4 separate regions of the Homo sapiens genome follow, and all the other regions are linked to region 2. Evidence: promoter capture Hi-C in 16 types of primary human blood cells and fetal thymus (Javierre and others, 2016). All regions are on one chromosome and are shown on one strand. The core of a region is centred on a gene start or on the middle of the fragment in contact, and the rest is flanking DNA. Distances in the headings are between cores, read along the strand shown. Region 1 overlaps ABI3BP (ABI family member 3 binding protein). Region 2 holds the start of RPL24 (ribosomal protein L24). Region 3 overlaps TFG (trafficking from ER to golgi regulator). Region 4 has its middle 220 kb from the start of ZPLD1.

The links. Contacts are between HindIII fragments. The CHiCAGO score rates a contact against its expected background, and 5 or more counts as called.
Region 1: a contact is called between a fragment that was not itself captured here and the fragment with the promoter of RPL24 in region 2, in 1 of 17 cell types (endothelial precursors). The highest score is 5.6, in endothelial precursors.
Region 3: a contact is called between a fragment that was not itself captured here and the fragment with the promoter of RPL24 in region 2, in 3 of 17 cell types (neutrophils, naive CD8 T cells and fetal thymus). The highest score is 6.8, in neutrophils.
Region 4: a fragment that was not itself captured here is called in contact with the fragment with the promoter of RPL24 in region 2 in 4 of 17 cell types (non-activated CD4 T cells, total CD4 T cells, total B cells and 1 more); the score reaches 7.6 in non-activated CD4 T cells.

Annotation. Positions count from the first base shown.
Region 1 is chr3:100,892,937-100,897,865 of GRCh38, reverse strand. The region is part of intron 4 of ABI3BP (ABI family member 3 binding protein); the gene reads left to right. Among named protein-coding and RNA genes, the nearest start is that of ABI3BP, 98 kb to the left of the region's middle. The HindIII fragment of the contact is 2,710 bases long and covers 1-2,686 here.
Region 2 is chr3:101,683,300-101,688,244 of GRCh38, reverse strand. It overlaps RPL24 (ribosomal protein L24), which reads left to right and starts at 1,527. Exons shown (of 6, transcript NM_000986.4): 1 at 1,527-1,573; 2 at 1,688-1,763; 3 at 2,317-2,427. The coding sequence starts at 1,569. It overlaps LOC124906262 (endogenous retrovirus group K member 5 Gag polyprotein), which reads right to left. Exons shown (of 3, transcript XM_047449415.1): 2 at 856-3,350. The coding sequence starts at 866. RefSeq lists enhancers at 1-320, 1,231-1,280, 1,291-1,780, 751-1,950, 1,941-2,130 and 1 more. The HindIII fragment of the contact is 5,611 bases long and covers 1-2,256 here.
Region 3 is chr3:100,712,141-100,717,753 of GRCh38, reverse strand. It overlaps TFG (trafficking from ER to golgi regulator), which reads right to left. Exons shown (of 8, transcript NM_006070.6): 2 at 3,885-4,111. The coding sequence starts at 4,068. Among named protein-coding and RNA genes, the nearest start is that of TFG, 5.5 kb to the right of the region's middle. The HindIII fragment of the contact is 5,880 bases long and covers 1-4,291 here.
Region 4 is chr3:102,216,322-102,221,240 of GRCh38, reverse strand. No RefSeq gene overlaps it. Among named protein-coding and RNA genes, the nearest start is that of ZPLD1, 220 kb to the left of the region's middle. The HindIII fragment of the contact is 6,610 bases long and covers 1-4,919 here.

The DNA.
Region 1 (4,929 bases), core at 82-2,581, 790 kb after region 2:
AGTTTTCTATTTTAAATACATTCAAAGTGATTTTTACATTTCAGAAGTTTTCTTATTCCTTTTTGAATAAAAAACATTTATTGAGGTATAATTTAAACACAGTAAAATGCATAAATATTAGTGTACAGTTTGAGTTATGACAAATGCCTATAACCATGTATCCAATACCCATCAGGAAACAGAAAAATTTTATCACTCTAGAAAGTACTTTCCTCCAGAAACAACCATTGATTTGATTTCTATCACCATAGATTAGTTTTGCCTACTCTAGAATTCCATATAAATGGAGTCATATAGTATGGGTTTTCTGACTGTCTTCTTTCGCTGAGCATTGAGATTCATTCATGACATTGCGGATATCAATAATTCATTCTTTTTTGTACTCCTGAGTGATAGTCTATTATGTGAATATTCAAAAGTTTATTCTCTTGCTAATGAGCACCTGAATTATGTTGTTTTTTTTTATGTATATGAATACAGACTGTATAAACATTTTCGCATAAAATTTTGGTGGACATTTTAATTTCTCTTAAACATAAGTGGAATTTCTGAGTTATAGGAAGATGTATATTACGTATATTTGATTATTTTTTGCCTAATTTTTCCATCTACATTCCCACAAGCAATGTAGGAGAGCTCTGATTGCTCCACATTCTAAAGCAGCATTTTGTGTTGTCAGCATCTTTCATTTTAGCCATTCTAGTGTAGTAGTTTTTCATTACAGTTTTGATATGTATTTCCCTTACACTAAGGCTATTGCATACTTCTTAATGTGCTTTTTGGCCATGTTTATGTTTTTTGTAGTGTTTTATTTATTTTTATTTGTCCAAATCAAACTAAAATGAAGGAATTTTTAAAGTGTTTATAAGTTCTCAAAATCACCTTTCATCTGACGTTGGGAAATCTAGACTCAAGAAAAAAATCAAATTTCCCTTCATATGCCCATGGTTCTCAAGGGATGAATACTTGGAAAAACATGTAGAAGATATTTCCAAAACCCAATTTTTTGAAAAATAATTTTGAAATGCTTCAAAGAATCTGAAATACTTTTTATTTCACCCACCACTAATCCCATGACTTATTTTGTTTGGAAAATGGACTCAAAAGAACATGCCTCCTTGTGATAATTCCGGTTCCTAATGGATTGGTCTGGGGTACTAATGCTGAGAAAATAAACACTTATGGATTGCTCTTTTTCTTTTTAAAAATTATCTTGATAAAGTTATGGAGAGAGAAAGGGAGAAGAGAGGAAGGAAGAAAGGAAATTTTGTAGTCTTACAGCAAAATGCAACCCAATTTTAAGGGTTACTCAACTTGCTTGATGAATCTGTAGGACTACTTGTTTCAATAGGTTTAGTAACCTGGCAAACTTGTGTAGCATAATTTGGAGTAATTTCTTCCTCCCGCTCTCAAGCCTCTCCTCCAATTTCACTTTGTCCTACTGACACTTCTGTAAAAGAATCTATCTGATGACCGATTCTAATTGATAGATGTTGCCATGGTTTGACAGCACCCGGAGATAATGAATATAGAGAAAGTTAGGACAGATGACCTAATGGAGCTAGGATTCTAACCCAGGCTGTTGACTCTAAGGCCCAAGCTATTCAGACCATGCATGGATCTCACCCTCACCCTCACCCCCTTGCACACGCACCCTGGCTCTACTCTTATCAAATAGATGGAATTAGGCACATCACATCACAATATTCAAAATCGATAATTTCATTTTGAATAAAGTCTTTTGAAAGATACAATAATGACAAGCAAGATATTCTTGACCAAAGTAGGGAACCATTAGGACATGAGTTGAAGGGAAGAATTAAACAGTAATGACTAAAAAGGAGTATTTGGAGTACTAGTAAATTTCATTTCCCCATGCTTCCTTTCTCCCTAATTAGCATAGTTAATAAACCGACATTTAAAGTCTTTGTGATGTTTGAGGAAAAAAATAATAGCCCCGATTTAAAAGCCTGGAAATACTGTACATATTAGAAGCATCCAAATAAATCTGCCAGAACTACAAATTAGTGTAATTAGAAGCAGACTAGACTTGGAGAAATCTACCCTCATATGTTCATGCATAATTTTTTTATAATTTAGACTAATCCAGTAGGTTAGCATAAGCAATAATAGCTAAAAATGATGGTTATATTCTGAAAATTGGAAGATTAATACAGCTAAAGTTTTACTTCAGGAGTATCTTTTTACAAAACCATTGCAATCTGAATGCACTTGGCTTGCTACAGGAACACCAATTGGTATCATTTTAATTCATTGATATTTGGTTCCCTCTGTACAGTCTCTGATTTTTTAAAAAAATGATTTACATTGGTTTGTGTAGCCTCATTTATCCTGTGCAAATAACAGTGAAATTTGTTTTTATATTTTGACTATGGACTTTGTATATCAAAGCTCTTAGGTAGTAAGTTTCCAGTTAGAAAACCCTCATTGTTTTTGTTTTGTTTTTAGCTTGGAAGTATCAATGAAATATCACTTTATCCTTTGTGGCGCATGTTTCTGTACCTATTTGCATAGGGTCTTTATGGGTCTCCCATGCTTTAAGATTCCTTTCTAAGTTCACATCGGAGAGCAGATGTGCTTCATTTACAGTTTTTATTCTTAATGGGCTTTGAATGGAAGAGTGTACCCATTTGTCTTCAATAGAGCCTCAATTTGAAAGAAAGCTTTCAAATTGGCCCTGATGAAGAGTCAACTGTTTTTAACCCAAATTTATTTCACCATTAATAGCTTATTTTTTCTTTCTCATGTTTCCAACTTGTTAAAGATTTCAAGATTGCTTTAGTTCTCACTCTTTTGCCAGCGTATTAAAGCTTTATGAATAGTTTAGAAATCACTTTCGCATTTTCTAACATTCTCATCTTGTGTTTTTTTTTTCTGTTTTTTTTTTTTTTTTTTTTTTTTTTTTTGAAGCGGAATCCCGCTCTGTCGCCCAGGCTGGAGTGCAGAGGCGCGATCTCGGCTCACTGTAAGCTCCGCCTGCCGGGTTCACGCCATTCTCCTGCCTCAGCCTCCCGAGTAGCTGGGACTACAGGCACCGGCCACCATGCCTAGCTAATTTTTTGTATTTTTAGTACAGGTGGGGTTTCACCGTGTTAGCCAGGATGTTCTTGATCTCCTGACCTCGTGATCTGCCCTCCTTGGCCTCCCAAAGTGCTGGGATTACAGGCGTGAGCCACCGCGCCCGGCCGTGTTTACTTACTCTTAACGTAGAATGAGGGCTCTCCTTTTTGGCCAGTCCAGAGCAGACTCTCTTGCCTTTTTTCCGCCCCCAAGTTTGTAAGAAGCGAGTATCTTCAGTGTCTGAATTCTCACCTGATTGACCCCAGTGCCTTGTTACCTGTCTGTCTTGCCGTGTAAGTTTTAAGCTCGGTGAAGACAGGGAGTATCTTGCCCACCGTTACTTCCTGGTCCCCCGAAGAGCATCAGGAACATAGGAGGCCCCAAGTAAATACATGCTGAATGAAATAACCAGTGAGATATCAACATTCTCACTTTTATGTGTTACCATTACCTCAAACTCAACATGACAAGATTAAACTCAGACTTTTTCTCTTGAAATATCACCTCACTTGTCTCTGTATTGCTTTCTAAAGTAGTATCATTGTCCCATTGGCTCTAATTTAAAACTTCATTTATTTTCTATTTTTCACCTACTATCGTTTATGAAGGCCCGAAGATACATTCGTTTTTCTTTTGAGATGTACCCATATCTGCATCTGTGTCTTCTCCTTGTCCATTTCACACTAATGTTCCCAATCCAAGCATGCCTCACCTTACCCTGGATTCTGGCAACAGCATCCTGGCTACATTCCCTGCTATTTTCTTCCCCCAATCTATTCTACCTTCCACAGTACTGAGGAAATCTAGACTATCCTTTATCAACTCACTCTTTCCTCATCCTGAATTTATCTTTACCTCTCTTCTCTTCTTTCCAAGAAACACAATTCTGACTTCAGACAGTGCTCATGATCCCATCTTTCCCATGTCGTCTAAGCCTTTGCTTCTCCAGTGATCCCCTCTCTCTTCCATTTGCCCTTTCACAGGCAGTGGTGCCCTGCCTCCTGCTGGCAAGCATGCTCAAAGTTTCTCTCCCTGAAAACAAAGCCTTCTGTTGATCCTGTTATGTATTCTAAGCTACTTTTCAGTCTCTTTTAATTTCCAAACTTTTCAGAGTTATGGCTCCCACATTCTGAATTCTGCACCATCTGCACAGTCCTCATCCCTTCTCACTAGTTGCCATCCCTTTTCCACTGTTCCACTGAAATGTCTCTTGGTGGTCACTAATGACCAATTAGTTACTAAACCCAGTAGAGTTTTCTCAGTCCTTATCCTTCTTAACCTATTCTTAAACTCTTTCTTTCTTTGACATTTTTATTTAGATTTTCCTCTTGCCCCTTTAACCATTTGTATTAGGGTTTCCTAGAGGGACAGGATTAATAGGAGAGATGTATATACATGAAGGGGAGTTTGTTAAGGAGTATTGACTCACAGAATCACAAGTTGAGGTTTCATAACAGGCCGTCTGCAAGCTGAGGAACAAGGAAGCCAGTCCGCGTCCCAAAACCTCAAAAGTAGGGAAGCTGACAATGCAGCTTTCAGTCTGTGGCTGAAGACCCAAGAGCCCCTGGCAAACCACTGTCATTAAGTCCAAGAATCCAAAAGCTGAAAACTTGAAGTCTGATGTTTGAGGGGAGGAAGCATCCAGCACAGGGGAAAGATGGAAGCTAGAAGACTCAGACAGTCTAGTCCTTCCAACTTCTTTTGCCTGCTTTATCCTAGCTATGCTGTCAGCTGATTAGATGGTGTCCACCCAAATGGAGGGTGGGTCTGCCTTTCCAAGTCCACTGACTCAAATGTTCATCTCTTTTGGCAACACCCTCACAGACATACCTAGGATCAATACTTGGC
Region 2 (4,945 bases), core at 278-2,777:
ATCCTAGCACTTTGGGAGAACGAGTGGATCACCTGAGGTCAAGAGTTTGGGACCAGCCTGGACAACATGGTGAAACCCCATCTCTACTAAAAATACAAAAATTAGCCGAGCGTGGTGGCAGGCGCCTGTAATCCCAGCTACTCGGGAGGCTGAGGCAGGAGAATCAATCGTTTGAACCCAGAGGGCGGAGGTTGCAGTGAGCCGAGACCGCGCCACTTCACTCCAGCCTGAATGAAAGAGCGAAACTCCGTCTCAAGGAAAAAAAAAAAAAAAAAAGACTGGCTCCAACACAATTGTACAGTTTTCATGACATTAGTCAGCCAACTTGTTAGACATTCCAAATATCTTCAACCAGCTACCTTACAAAACGTTTTTAGGGTGAGTTGCATACATAGAAAGCAGAACTCAGTCATTACATTTGTTTCCTAGTCATATACTGCAACCTCCCACAGAATTCAAGAATTGCCTCTGGCCACTCCTTGTCATACGATGAAATATGTAGCATCATAGAAGGGCTCAACAGATTGAGCCCTTGGCCTCCCAGCGGGGCTCCACCGACCCCCTCAACTTCACTAGGCAGCAACTCCGAATTGTAGTTCTTAGGCAGGTACTTAATAGGAATTTTGGAAACTGAATGAGCTCATGTTTAAAAAGCCTTTGGCATAATTCCCGGCACAGAGAAAGCGCTCAAAGAATGTTAATTATAATTAATGCAAAGCGCCAACGCGCACTGTTCGATTCGCACAGCCTGAGAAACGGTTCGGTTGTCATTACTTTCTTATAAATGGTGAAACTATTAATTTGTTTGGTTGAGGAAATGGGCCAACAGGGAAGGCAAAATGTGACTGGTTTTACCTGCGGGGCATTCGTCTTTGGGTCTCTTTATGAGAAGAGAGGACACCTTTCTCTTCAGTTCACATTCCCTGCAGCCGGAAGATGGCTCTAGGATACTTGGCAGTAAGAGAGGCAGAATGGGCCGGGCGCAGTGGCTCCCGCCTATAATCCCAACACTTTGGGAGGCCGAGGAGGGCGGACCACCTGAGGTCAGGAGTTCGAGACCAGCCTGACCAACATGGAGAAACCCCGTCTCTACGAAAAATACAAAATTAGCCGGACGTGGTGGCACATGCCTGTAATCCCAGCTACTAGGGAGGCTGAGGCAGGAGAATCGCTTGAACCTGGGAGGCGGAGGTTACGGTGAGCCGAGATTGCGCCACTGCACTCCAGCCTGGGCAACAAGAGCGAAACTCCGTCTCAAAAAAAAAAAAGAGAGGAGAGACAGAGACAGAATGACTCATAAACCAACTGTCTGACTGCCTTTTTGGCAGGCCCTCTGGGCCCGAGAACCCTCCAGCGCCTCTGGATGAATTGCGCCAGAGGAAGTCAGCTGTCAGGGAAAACGAGATCTTTCGCCTCGCGATGATTACGTCATCAAGGAGGGCCAGGAGCATCGAAGGATATTGGGGAGGAGATTTCCGGCCCCCATCCCCGCAGCGACCTTATAAGGTCTCTTCCCATGATTCTCTCTTTCTTTTCGCCATCTTTTGTCTTTCCGTGGAGCTGTCGCCATGAAGTAAGCACGACCCGTGGTTCCCAATCCGCTTACATCCTCGGGCAGAACTCCTCTCTGTCGTCCCTGGCATGGCTGTAGACACCCTCCCTGATGGACTTTCACTTTTTGTTGCAGGGTCGAGCTGTGCAGTTTTAGCGGGTACAAGATCTACCCCGGACACGGGAGGCGCTACGCCAGGACCGACGGGAAGGTAAAAAGCCGCGTCGGCTTCACCTACCTTCTTGTACTCCGAGGAGGAAAGGCTGGTTTAATTCGGTTTAGGCGGGTTTATTCCCCACATCACCACTGGCCTCTGGAAGTCTTCGTGGACGCTCTGTGGACTGGTCGTTAGGACCAGAAACCTCTAAGTGAACCAGTGTTGATTATTTATTGTGAGCCAGGTCGGACATCAGGAGGGGTTTATGTAACTGATGTCCCGGTGTAAGGGAAATAACTGAGGTACGGAGGTACCCTTTGGAATCCTGGGACGGACAAGAGCAGAATGCTTCCCAGAAGGACGCACCACCCTGTCCTTTGCTATGAGCCTAGATTTCCTGCTCTCGAGAAAAGACTAAACGCAAGGACCTTCATAGTGTGACACAGTTACCTGCCAGTTATGTGACAGCCTTTTGGTCCTTGTGGGCCTCAGTTTTGTAAAATGATAAGCCAGAACTAGCATATTGATCTTCTAAGGATTCCAAGCTTACTCAGCCTCTTGTACTTTGTATAGTTAAATAGTAATTCCTTTGCATTTGTCACTCTAGGTTTTCCAGTTTCTTAATGCGAAATGCGAGTCGGCTTTCCTTTCCAAGAGGAATCCTCGGCAGATAAACTGGACTGTCCTCTACAGAAGGAAGCACAAAAAGGGACAGTCGGTAAGTGGAATACGCCTTGATGTTGGGGGCTATCTCTTAAGTTGTCAAAGCTCTCTGAACGTTGGTTTTCTGCTCTGTAAAATTAAATCAGACTGTATGCGAAAGAGCTCTTAAACTGTAAAGCGTCAGCAAAATGAAAAAGATATTATAAACTGTCTCTATATATTTTAGGCTAGTAGCAATACCGAGTTGAAATTTTAAAGTCAGATAAATTACGTTAAGCACCTTTGCGTTATAGGGCAGGGTGGAAGGGCTTAGTTTTCCAGTGGGAGGAAATTGAGAAGTTACCATAATTTGGTTTTGATTGCAATATTTACAGGATTAGTCCTAACATAGCCAGTGGACCATGAACCAGTCCACCATACACTAGTTCATTCACTAGAAAAACAGTGGTTTTTCTGGTCCTTGTTAAGTGTCCTTTTAGCTGGGTTATACATGAGAAAAAGTTTGAGTGCCATGGTAGGACTAGTATTCAGGAGGCTTGGGAATACTTACTGAACACCTTCTGGATGAAGGACTTTTCTAGGTATTGTGAGAAATAAATGCCATCAGACATAAAATATGTTGAAAGTTCAGAGGAAGGAGAAACTTAAAAGTGGATATGACACACCTATTAGGGTGACTATTCAGGAAAAAAAAAAACAGGAATTACAGGTGTTGGTGAGGATGGGGAGAAATTGGAACCTTTGTGCATTGCTAAATATGCAACAGCTGTGAAAAATCATTTGGTGTTTTCTCAAAAGGGTAAACATAAAAATTATCCCAGCAGTTCCACTTCTAAGTTATACCCTAAAACAGTTGAAAGCAGGGACTCTATAACTTGTATATCAGTGTCATAGCAAATCCGGGCTTGGTGGCAGCGGCTGTACTCTAGCTCCTCCGGAGGCCAAGGTGGGAGGATTGTTTGAGGCAACATAGGAGACCTTTAAAAAAAAAAAAAGTTATTTAGATGGATAATGGTGATAGCTACACAGCGCTATGAATGTACATAAGGCCACTATACCTTTTTTTTTTTTTTTTTTTTTTTTTTTTTTTTTTTTTGGGGAGACAGGTCCTCTGTTGCTCAGGCTGGAGAGCAGTGGCAGGATCACAGCTCACTCCACCTCAACCTTATGGGCTCAAGTGATCCTCCCACCTCCGCCTACCCCGTGGTCCACAGGCACATGCCACCATGGCCCAGCTATTTTTTAAATATATTTTGAGGAGACAGAAATCTTTGCGATGTTGCCCAATTTCGTCTCAGATTCTTGGGCTCAAGTAATCCTCCTGCCTTGGCCACCCAAAGTACTGGCATTACAGGCGCGAGCCATCCTGCATAGCTAAATTATAATTTAAAAAGTTAAAATGAGGCTGGGCATGGTGGCTTACATGCCTGTAATCCCAGCACTTTGGGAGGCCAAAACGAGTGGATCACCAGGTCAGGAGTTCAAGAACAGCCTGGCCCACAGAGTGAAACCCTGTCTCTACTAAAAATACAAAAAAAAATTAGCCGGACATGGTGGCAGGTGCCTGTAGTCCCAGCTACTTGGGAGGCTGAGGCAGGAGAATAGCTTGAACCCAGGAAGTGGGGGGTTGCAGTGAGCTGGGATTGTGCCACTGCACTCCACCCTGGGTGACAGGGTGAGGCTCCATTTAAAAAAAAAAAAAAAAGTTAAAATGGGCCTAGTGCAGTGCCTCACGCCTGTAATTCCAGCACTTTGGGAGGCCCAGGCAAGAGGATCCCTTGAGCTTGAGCCCAGGAGTTTGAAACCAACCTGGCAACATAGTAGTGAAGACCCCAGTTTCTACTTAAAAAAATAGAAAACAGGCTGGGGATGGTGGCTCACGCCTGTAATTCTACCACTTGGGGAGGCCAAGGCGGACAGATTGCCTGAGCTCAGGCGTTAGAGACCAGCCTGGGCAACATGGTGGAACCCGGTTTCTACTAAAAATACAAAAATTAGCCGGGCGTGGTGGCGGTTACTTGTGATCCCAGCTACTCAGGAGGCTGAGGCAGAATTGCTTGAACCCCGGAGGTGGAGGCGGAGGTTGCAGTGAGCCAAGATCATGCCACTGCACTCCAGCCTGGGCAACAGAGCAAGGCTGAGTCTTTAAAAAAAAAAAAAAAAAAGAAAAGAAAAACCAAAAGGTTAAAATTGTCAACTTTACATTTTTACCACAATAAAAAAAATGTTTAAGTGTTCGTTTGAGACAAGAATATTAAACAGGTAAATACTGCCATTTACTGTAGAAAAACTGCCATTTTACTGTAGAAACAATAAGATTGCATCTTTCTAAAAAGTTTAAAATTAGCATGTCTGTAAACCACCAATGTGCCTTATTTTTGTTAAAAGTTTTTAAGGTAATTTTGCATGTCAGTGCCTTAATAAACAACTATTCGAATATACTTTGTTCTTGACTTAAAGGTGCACTGCAAGATCTTTTTCTCATAAACACTGTAGTATAGATTTCCAGTAATCTACAGAAAGTGTTAGATTCCACAATACCTTCTCAGACAAATCCTACCTAACATTTGGTG
Region 3 (5,613 bases), core at 102-2,601, 970 kb after region 2:
TCAATAAAGCTGCCAGAAACAAAATAAGTACACAAAAATAAGTAGTGTTTCTATACACATACAATAAAAAATAAAAAATGCAATCCCATTAACCACAGCTACAAAAATTTTTTTAAATATCTAGGAAGCAGTTTAACCAAGAAGATGAAAAACCTCTACAAAAAAAAAAAAAAACACTGATGAAAGAAACCAAAGAGCATACATATGTAATGACATCCCATGCTTATATAAGAACAAATATTGTTAAAATGACAAAATTACTCAAAGCAATTTACAGATTCAATTCAATCCCTATCAAACTACCAATAAAATTATTCATAAAAATTTAAAAACAAACCATAAAATTTGTACAGAACTACATACAACCCCAGACAGTCAAAGCAATACTGAGCAAAGAACAAAGCTGAAGGTGTCACACTTACTGACCTCAAAATATACTACAAAGCTGTAATAAGCATGGACTGGCACAAAAACGGACCCACAGACCAACAGAACTGACATAAAAACAGACCCATTGACCAAGAGAACAAACACATAGATCAATAGAACACATAGAACAAAAGAACATAATCCATGTTATCTATAGCCAACTGACTTTTGACAAGACCACTCATTAGGAAAAGGATAACCTCTTTAATAGGTCGGGAAAAGATTTCATGAATAAGACCTCAAAAGTGCAGTCAATAAAAGCAAAAATAAATATGATTATCTCAAACTGGAAAACTTTTCTGCACAGCAAAGGAAACAATCAAGAGTGAAAAGAGAACTTACAGAATGGGAGGAAATACAACTACTCATCTGGCAGAGGATGAATATTCAGAATATAGAAGGAACTCAAACATCTCAACAGCTAAAAAACAATCAATCCGATTTTAAAATCGGCAAATGATCTGAACAGACATTTCTCAAAAAAAGACATAGAAATGGTCAATAAATATATGAAAAAATGCTCAAAATCACAAATCATCAGGGAAATGCACACATATCAGGAAAATGAAGACCACAACAAGGTTCACCCCAGTTAGGATGGTTATTATCAAAAAGATAAATAACAAATGCTGGCAAGAATGAAGAGAAAAGGGAACTCTTACACATTATTGGTAGGAATGTCAACAGTACAGCCACTAGGGAGAACAGTATGAAGGTTCCTCAAAAAACTATAAATCGAACTAACACACAATTCAGCGATGCCACTACTGAATATTTAACTAAAGGAAAGGAAACCAGTATATTGAAGAGAAATCTGCACTCACATTTTACTGCAGCACTATTCACAATAGTCAAGATATGGAATCAACCTAAGTGTCTAACAACAGATTAACTGATAAAGAAAATATGGTATATATACACAATGGAATACAATTCAGCCATAAAAAAGAATGAAGTCCTGTCATTCACAGCAACATGGATGGAACTGGAAGACATTAAGTTAAAAAGATACCACATGCTCTCTCTCATATGTGGAAGCTAAAAAAAGTTGATCTTATACAAGTAAAAAGCAGAACAGATGACAGTAGAGGCTGCAAAGGGTAGGGGAAAAGAGGGATAGGGAGAGATTTATTAAAAGACACAAAAGTACAACTAGATAGAAGTAGTTCCAGTGTTCTATAGCACTATAGGATGACTACAGTTAACAATAACATATTATATAATTTCAAATAGCTAGAAGGAGAATATTGAATGTTTCTAACCCAAAGAAATAAATATTTGAGGTGATGGATATGCGAATTACCCTGATCTAATCCCATTATATGTAATGAAACATTACTATGTACCCCATAAATATGTACAATTATTATTTGTCAATTAAAACAAAATTTAAAAAAAAAAGTACTCTTGGGACTTTGCTAAAAAAAAAAAAAAGTTAAAAATCTGAATTGTAGGCTGGGCATGGTGGCTTATGCCTTTGGGAGGCCGGGTTGGCAGTATTGCCTGGGGACAGGAGTTAAAGGTTATGATGAGCTATAATCATGCCACTGCACTGTAGCCTGGATGAGAGTGAGACCCTGTCTCAAAAAAAAAAAAAATTCACTGATCAAATTAAGACACACATTTCAAAGTCACAGAGGTGCAAATCAATGTATGATAAGCATAAGAAAACAGGAAAAAAGTACTATCCTTTATTGTTTCTTAACATGGGCAACTCTCAAAAATTTGTTTTGGGTATTCTTAGACTACACATCACAAAAACAAAGGAGAATTATACCTTTAGCTAGATGGTCAATTTAACTGATCACCAGTGATTTACACTTCTCCTCCACAGTATAAGTTGTGCTAAGTGGCTGCTCAGCCAGGGACTATACTTCCCAACCCATTTGCATCTTAGCAAAGCCATGTAACTGGGTACTGACCAATGTCATAAGGGCAGAAATGACATACAACACCATCAGGCCTAGTGAGTAAAATCTCCCATATGATTCTTCATACTCTGTCTTCACTCATCTGCTTGCCAATGTCAATGCCTATGGTGAGCTTATAAGCCATGTGTTGAAGGTAACAGCTTCTTTCAACCTGGATCCCTGAAAGATTTCTCAACTATTAAACCACTCAGATTTTAAGATTTCTATTATATCTGCTGGCATTACTTTAAGCCCAACCCTAACACAGACAGAGAAAAAACTGTTAGTGATAAGAAAACTAGGTTAAGCAGTGTCAGAGATGTTAAGAGGTAAAAGTATTTAAAAACAAGGATGGTGTGGGTAGCAGTGCTAAACAGTGAGGTCAAGATTAAATACACTGCAAGTAAGTTCCACAGTAAAAAACACTGGTAACCACCTAAAGAGAAAATTTCAGCAGAGATATTAACAAAGAAGGCAGGTTGAAGAATAGGAAATACAGTCTACTACTATAATTCTACTCAGTGTGTTTGCCGAAACATTTTTCATTCAAAACCTATTTCCATAAAGATAATTTTGTCAACAAATGAGTCTGGGAACACTGCATACTACTAACTTCTGAAAATGTATATAAGCATATTACATAATCTGAAAACTCCTACAATAAAGAAACACTTTTGTCTTTGTTTAAACCAGCTTTCCCTTACTTAGTTGACCATAAAATCCTTTTTCATTCAATACATACTAAAACCTTTCATTTCGGGAAATAAGAATAGAAAAAAAATTTTTTTAAGCTAAAAGAAACCAGAATTATATGGACAAAAGGAGAAAATAATGCTTGTAAAAAAAATGTATGTGAAAATGTTCTAACACTTAAAATTCCCTTCTAATAAACCAATTAGCTATTTTTTTTTTTTTGAGACGGAGTCTTGCTGTGTCACCCAGGCTGGAGTGCAGTGGCACGATCTTGGCTCAATGTAAGCTCCACCTCCCGGGTTCAAGTAATTCTCTGCCTCATCCTCCCGAGTAGTTGGGATTACAGGCGCACACCACCACGCCCAGCTAATTTTTGGTATTTTTAGTAGAGACAGGGTTTCGCCATGTTGGCCAGGCTGATCTTGAACTCCTGACCTCAAATGATCCGCCTACCTCGGTCTCCCAAAGTGCTGGGATTACAGGCATGAGCTGCTGCGCCCGGCCCCACTTAGCTAATTTTAACTGATGAGAGAATTATAGTAACTATAGGAACATCACATTCAATACAAGAAAGTGAGGTCTCAACTACCGTGAAGAGAGGATGGGAAAGAGTCCAATAAAAATGGGCAAAATAACACATACAATACTTAAGACTTTAAGGTCAGGCATGGCAGTTCATGCCTGTAATCCCAGCACTTTGGGAGGCCGAGGCAGGATTGCTTGAGCCCAGGAGTTTGAGGTGACACTGAGCTATGATCACACCACTGTACTCCAGCCTGGGCAACAGAGGCTCTGTCTTTTTTTTTTTTTTTTTAAAAAGACTTTAAAAAATAGCTTTAAAAACACTCTTACCTTCATCTTTATACTTTATTGTTACTTCATCATTACTCAGAAGTTTTCCTCTGAAAACTCGTTGCATCATTAGCACTAATTCATCATAAGTAATATCTTCATTATGAATAGGAATTCGCCGAATATCCTCCCCAAGTTGAGCTTTGATGATTAGCTTCCCACTTAGATCCAACTGTCCGTTCATGGTGGACTCCAGGATGTTCTATATATACAACTCTAGAGAAAGACTGATAAAAGTGGTTTTGATAATTAAACAACAAAACATACCGTAAAAGTTGAGAGCAAAGCTACTATTAGATGCTAAGAAACTCTAGCCTCCAAAAGATTCATTATCCCCATGTTACCATATTTATGTTAAAATGGTCTGGAGGCAACATTATTTTACTGTAGGGATAATAAAATAAGCTTTTATTTTACGTCTACTATTATTTTTTCTCATATTTAACTGTTCATCTGACATGACCATTTAGATTTTTCTTAATATATCTAAAAATAAATTCCTGATCTTCCACCTAAAACCTGCCTCTCCTAGAGGCTTCTTTATCTTCCTTCGAGTTGTATAAGACAAAAAAATCTTGGTTGATCTCTCTCTCTCAAACCTTACATCCAAACTGCCAAGAAAATATGGTTGCCACTGCCTTTAAAATAACTCTGGGGTCCAACCACTTCAGCACCTTCACTGCTATCAACTTGATTCAAGCCACCATCATCACTTGCCTAAATGACTGGAAAAGACTCCTAACCAGTCTGCCTGCTTTTTACCTTTGCCCACTTTTAATCTAGTCTCAGAACACCAGAGTTAACACTGTTAAGTAAAACCTAGTATCATTCTGTTCAAAACCTTCCAATGCATTCTCATCCCAAAAAGCAAGACCTATAAAATCATCTGGCCTCCAGTCCCTGGCCAAGTATTTAACTTCATTTCCTACCTCTCTTCTTCACTCACCCCTGCTATTCCCATACTTCAAGTTTTCCCTTTGTCTTGACCCTTTCTGATACCCCTCATATGATTCAGATTCCTTATCAAGTGTTAACTGAGAGAGATCTTTCCTAACCATCTAATTTAAAATGGCTCCCCTGGCATTATCTTCTTATCCTGCTTTATTTTTCTTCAAAGCACTTAACACTACCAGACATTAAAAATTTATAACATTTTATTGTCTTTTCCACTTGATGGTAGGAAGTAAACGATTATGTTTTCCATATTCCCAGAGTCTACAACAGTGCCTAGCAGACAACAGTCATTCAACAGCTATTAAATAAAGGGAAAAATAATGGATTAATATCTCTTCTTCTCAAGGCCAAGATGTTCCTGAATGTTATCTATAATCGCTGAACATTTTCCAAGCATAACTCCTTCCTCCTCCTGCCCCAAGAAAATGATCTCTTGAGACTTTTCAAGGTATCCTACAAACTACTACTGGCCACATTCTAGTTTCAACTTCCCGCCTTACTACTAGCAGCTTTCTGCTTCCTCCTCTTAAATCTGTTATTTCATTAACACCACACTTCTCTGCAATTATTCTTTATTCTTTCGGGGTATGTGAAAGCACTCACCTACTCCCCCAACATATCAACCCTTCAAGTACTTCAAAAAAGTTTTCATGAATCCTATTATATGAATATTATATATTAATGCCCTACTATTCTTCATATAAATACGCTAGGTCCTTCCATCTAACTAGTCCTTAAATTAATATCTCTAGACCCCTCACCATGCTCTCAACAG
Region 4 (4,919 bases), core at 1,949-4,448, 530 kb before region 2:
GAAAGGAAAAACCAATAATAGGCAGAGAGCCAAATCATGAGCGAACTGCCATTCACAATTGCTTCAAAGAGAATAAAATACTTAGGAATACAACTTACAAGGGATGTGAAGGACCTCTTCAAGGAAAACTACAAACCACTGCTCAAGAAAATAAGAGAGGACGCAAACAAATGAAAAAACATTCCATGCTCAATGATAGGACGAATCAATATCGTGAAAATGGCCATACTACCCAAAGTAATTTATAGATTCAAAGCTATTCCCATCAAGCTACCATTGACTTTCTTCACAGAATTAGAAAAAATTTACTTAAAATTTCATATGGAACCCAAAAAGAGCTCGTATAGCCAAGACAATCTTAAGCAAAAAGAACAAAGCCAGAGGCCTCATGCTACCTCATTTCAAACTATACTACAAGGCTACAGTAACCAAAACAGCATTCTACTTGTATCGAAACAGATATATAGATAAATGGAACAGAACAGAGGCCTCAGAAATAACACCACACATCTACAACCACCTGATCTTTGACAAACCTGACAAAACAAGCAACGGGGAAAGGATTCCCTATTTAATAAATGGTGCTGGGAAAATTGGCTAGTCATATGCAGAAAACTGAAACTGGATCCCCTCCTTACACCTTATACAAAAATTAACTCAAGATTCATTAAAGACTTAAACATAAAACCTAAAACCATAAAAACCCTAGAAGAAAACCTAGGCAATACCATTCAGGACATAGGCATAGCCACAGACTTCATGACTAAAACACCAAAAGCAATGGCAACAAATGTCAAAATTGACAAATGGGATCTAATTAAACTAAAGAGCTTCTGCACAGCAAAAGAAACTACCATCAGAGTCAACAGGCAACCTACAGAATGGGAGAAAATTTTTGCAATCTATCCATCTGACAAAGGGCTAACATCCAGAATCTTCAAGGAACTTAAACAAATTTACAAGAAAAAAACAAACAATCTCATCAAAAAGTGGGCAAAGGATATGAACAGACGCTTTTCAAAAGAAGACATTTATGCAGCCAACAAACATGAAAAAAAACTCATTATCACTGGTTATTAGAGAAATGCAAATCAAAACCACAATGAGATACCTTCTCACGCCAGTTAGAATGGAGATTATTAACAAGTCAGGAAACAACAAATGCTGGAGAGGATGTGGAGAAATAGGAACGATTTTACACTGTTGGTGGGAGTGTAAATTAGTTCAACCATTATGGAAGACAGTGTGATGATTCCTCAAGGATCTAGAACCAGAAATACCATTTGACCCAGCAATACCATTACTGGGTATATACCCAAAGGATTATAAATCATTCTGCTATAAAGACACATGCATACATATGTTTATTGCAGCACTATTCACAATAGCAAAGACTTTGAACGAACCCAAATGCCCATCAACGATAGACTGGATTAAGAAAATGTGGCACATATACACCATGGAATACTATGCAGCCATAAAAAAGAATGACTTCATGTCCTTTGCAGGGACATGGATGAAGCTGGAAACCATCATTCTCAGCAAACTAACAGCACAGAAACAGAAAAACAAACACTGTATGTTCTCATTCATAAGTGGGAGTTGAACAATGAGAACACATGGACACAGGAAGGGGAACATCATTCACTGAGGCCTGTCGGGGGTTGGGGGGCAAGGGGAGGGAGAGCATTAGGACAAATACCTAATGCAGACAGGGCTTAAAACTTAGATGACAAGTTGATGGGTGCGGCAAACCACCATGGCCCATGTATACCTATGTAACAAACCTACATGTTCTGCACATGTATCCCAGAATTTAAAGTATAATTTTAAAAAGAAAGAAAAAAGAAGCTGGCAAAGAAGTAAAAAAAATAAATATTATCTATGATATATATATTTCCAAATCTATGTCTCTAAACCACAACCCCTTTTTTGAGTTACAGGCTTATTCATCCAAATGTTAACATGTTGTTTCCGTCTTGATATTTCCACAGCTGAATGCTTTATCTTCTCACCCAAATCTACCTCTACAGTCGTCCTCATTTAAGTATACGACCCCCCTAGAAAATTGTTTCACCTTCAAATTCCTCTCTCTTTTCTCCACCATTAAACCAATCAAACAGAAACTAGTGTAGAATCTATCCTCAAAATGTATCTTGAGCCCATTGCTTCTATATTCAAAAATATAAATAAAATTATAAACAATGAGAAAAAAATTGAACATTAAATATTTAATAATATTGGAAATTTATTGTTAATTTTGTATGTAGTCAGTATTACAATCATTTTTAAAGATATGCACTGAACCATATAGATAAAATTATATGTTGTCTAGAAATTGATTTAAAATAATCTGAAGTATAGGTAAGTAGGGAGGCATAGATGAAATAAGATATGCCATACAGTGATAATTATTGAAGCTGGAAGATAAGCACATCAGGTTCATTATGTTCTATTTTTGTCTATGTGTATAAAATTTCATAATAAAGTTATACATAAATTTTTAAATGGGTTGCCTCAAACAATGTAAGGAAACAAGATAATGTTATACTTTATAGATGTATTTCAATAAGTTCTTTGTCAGCCATATGATGTGGTAAAAACAACGGCCATTTACCCTGACATTAATTGCATAAAATGATTCAAAATTATCAAGAAGACTCTATGAAATATAGTTTATATCCACTATCTTTAAAGATTAGTCTTTCTCTAAGTAGATTTTGTACTTTAAAATATTAATGATCATTTTAAAGCCATCAAAATTACTAAGGCATAAATCACCATACAGAATTATGAAGACAAATATCAACAGGTTTTTTTAATAGTGGTTCAAAGTATCATGCAATAACTAACCCAGGACTTCACAATATTTCATTAAATATGTAATAAATATTTAATCTCCTACCTAAGGATTAAAGAAAAACTATATACCATTGGGAAACATTGTTCTTTCTACAGTAAATGCATCTGGAAAATAAAACACCTGGGAAATAAAACAGGTACAAATTATAATGCATTCTTTTGTTAGAAAATACTATTGGAAGACACAAAAACCTTGAGGATTTAAAGAAATAAATATTACCTGGTGTGGGAAGTTTGTTATACAATTGGATAAAAGTATATCTGTTTTTCAGCTTATGATATATTCTAGTATTCTAGACTTTTTCCAATGATTTTATATATATATAAATATAAATAAATATATATAAAACACTAACTTTATTGAGAATAACAAAAAGTATATTCAATGATCTTTTCTACTTATAAATTATTTCTCTAATGTATGTATAAAAATTTTAAACTACTTGTTGATGGAGTAACAGCTTTGACTATAATAAGAAAGAATAATAATTTCCAGAGTAAGTTGTAGAGAGAGCAAATCACATGAAATTTTGGCACTCCATTGTTCAAAGACAAAGCAGATGAAAATACAGCAAAGCAGGTGAAAAAGAAGTGCACAGAGTGCTACCAAATGTCATTGATGTAACTGATTTTACAAAAACAAGATCTTTTTTTTTTTATTAAAGTTTTAGGGTACATGTGCACATTGTGCAGGTTAGTTACATATGTATACATGTGCCATGCTGGTGCGCTGCTCCCACCAACTCGTCATCCAGCATTAGGTATATCTCCCAATACTATCCCTCCCCCCTCCCCCCCACCCCACAACAGTCCCCAGAGTGTGATATTCCCCTTCCTGTGTCCATGTGATTTCATTGTTCAGTTCCCACCCATGAGTGAGAATATGCAGTGTTTGGTTTTTTGTTCTTGCAATAGTTTACTGAGAATGATGACTTCCAATTTCATCCATGTCCCTACAAAGGACATGAACTCATCCTTTTTTATGGCTGCATAGTATTCCATGGTGTATATGTGCCACATCTTCTTCATCCAGTCTATCATTGTTGGACATTTGGGTTGGTTCCAAGCCTTTGCTATTGTGAACAATGCCACAACAAACATACGTGTGCATGTGTCTTTATAGCAGCATGATTTATAGTCCTTTGGGTATATACCCAGTAATGGGATGGCTGGGTCAAATGGTACTTCCAGTTCTAGATCCCTGAGGAATCGCCACACTGACTTCCACAAGGGTTGAACTAGTTTACAGTCCCACCAACAGTGTAAAAGTGTTCCTATTTCTCCACATCCTCTCCAGCACCTGTTGTTTCCTGACTTTTTAATGATTGCTATTCCAACTGGTGTGAGATGGTATCTCATTGTGGTTTTGATTTGCATTTCTCTGATGGCCAGTGATGATGAGCATTTTTTCATGTGTTTTTTGGCTGCATAAATGTCTTCTTTTGAGAAGTGTCTGTTCATGTCCTTCGCCCACTTTTTGATGAGGTTGTTTGTTTTTTTCTTGTAAATTTGTTTGAGTTCATTGTAGATTCTGGATATTAGCCCTTTGTCAGATGAGTAGGTTGCAAAATTTTCTCCCATTTTGTAGGTTGCCTGTTGACTCTGATGGTAGTTTCTTTTGCTGTGCAGAAGGTCTTTAGTTTAATTAGATCCCATTTGTCAATTTTGGCTTTTGTTGCCATTGCTTTTGGTGTTTTAGACATGAAGTCCTTGCCCATGCCTATGTCCTGAATGGTAAAGCCTAGGTTTTCTTCTAGGGTTTTTATGGTTTTAGGTCTAACGTTTAAGTCTTTAATCCATCTTGAATTGATTTTTGTATAAGGTGTAAGGAAGGGATCCAGTTTCAGCTTTCTACATATGGCTAGCCAGTTTTCCCAGCACCATTTATTAAACAGGGAATCCTTTCCCCATTGCTTGTTTTTCTCAGGTTTGTCAAAGATCAGATAGTTGTAGATATGCGGCATTATTTCTGAGGGCTCTGTTCTGTTCCATTGATCTATATCTCTGTTTTGGTACCAGTACCATACTGTTTTGGTTACTGTAGCCTTGTAGTATAG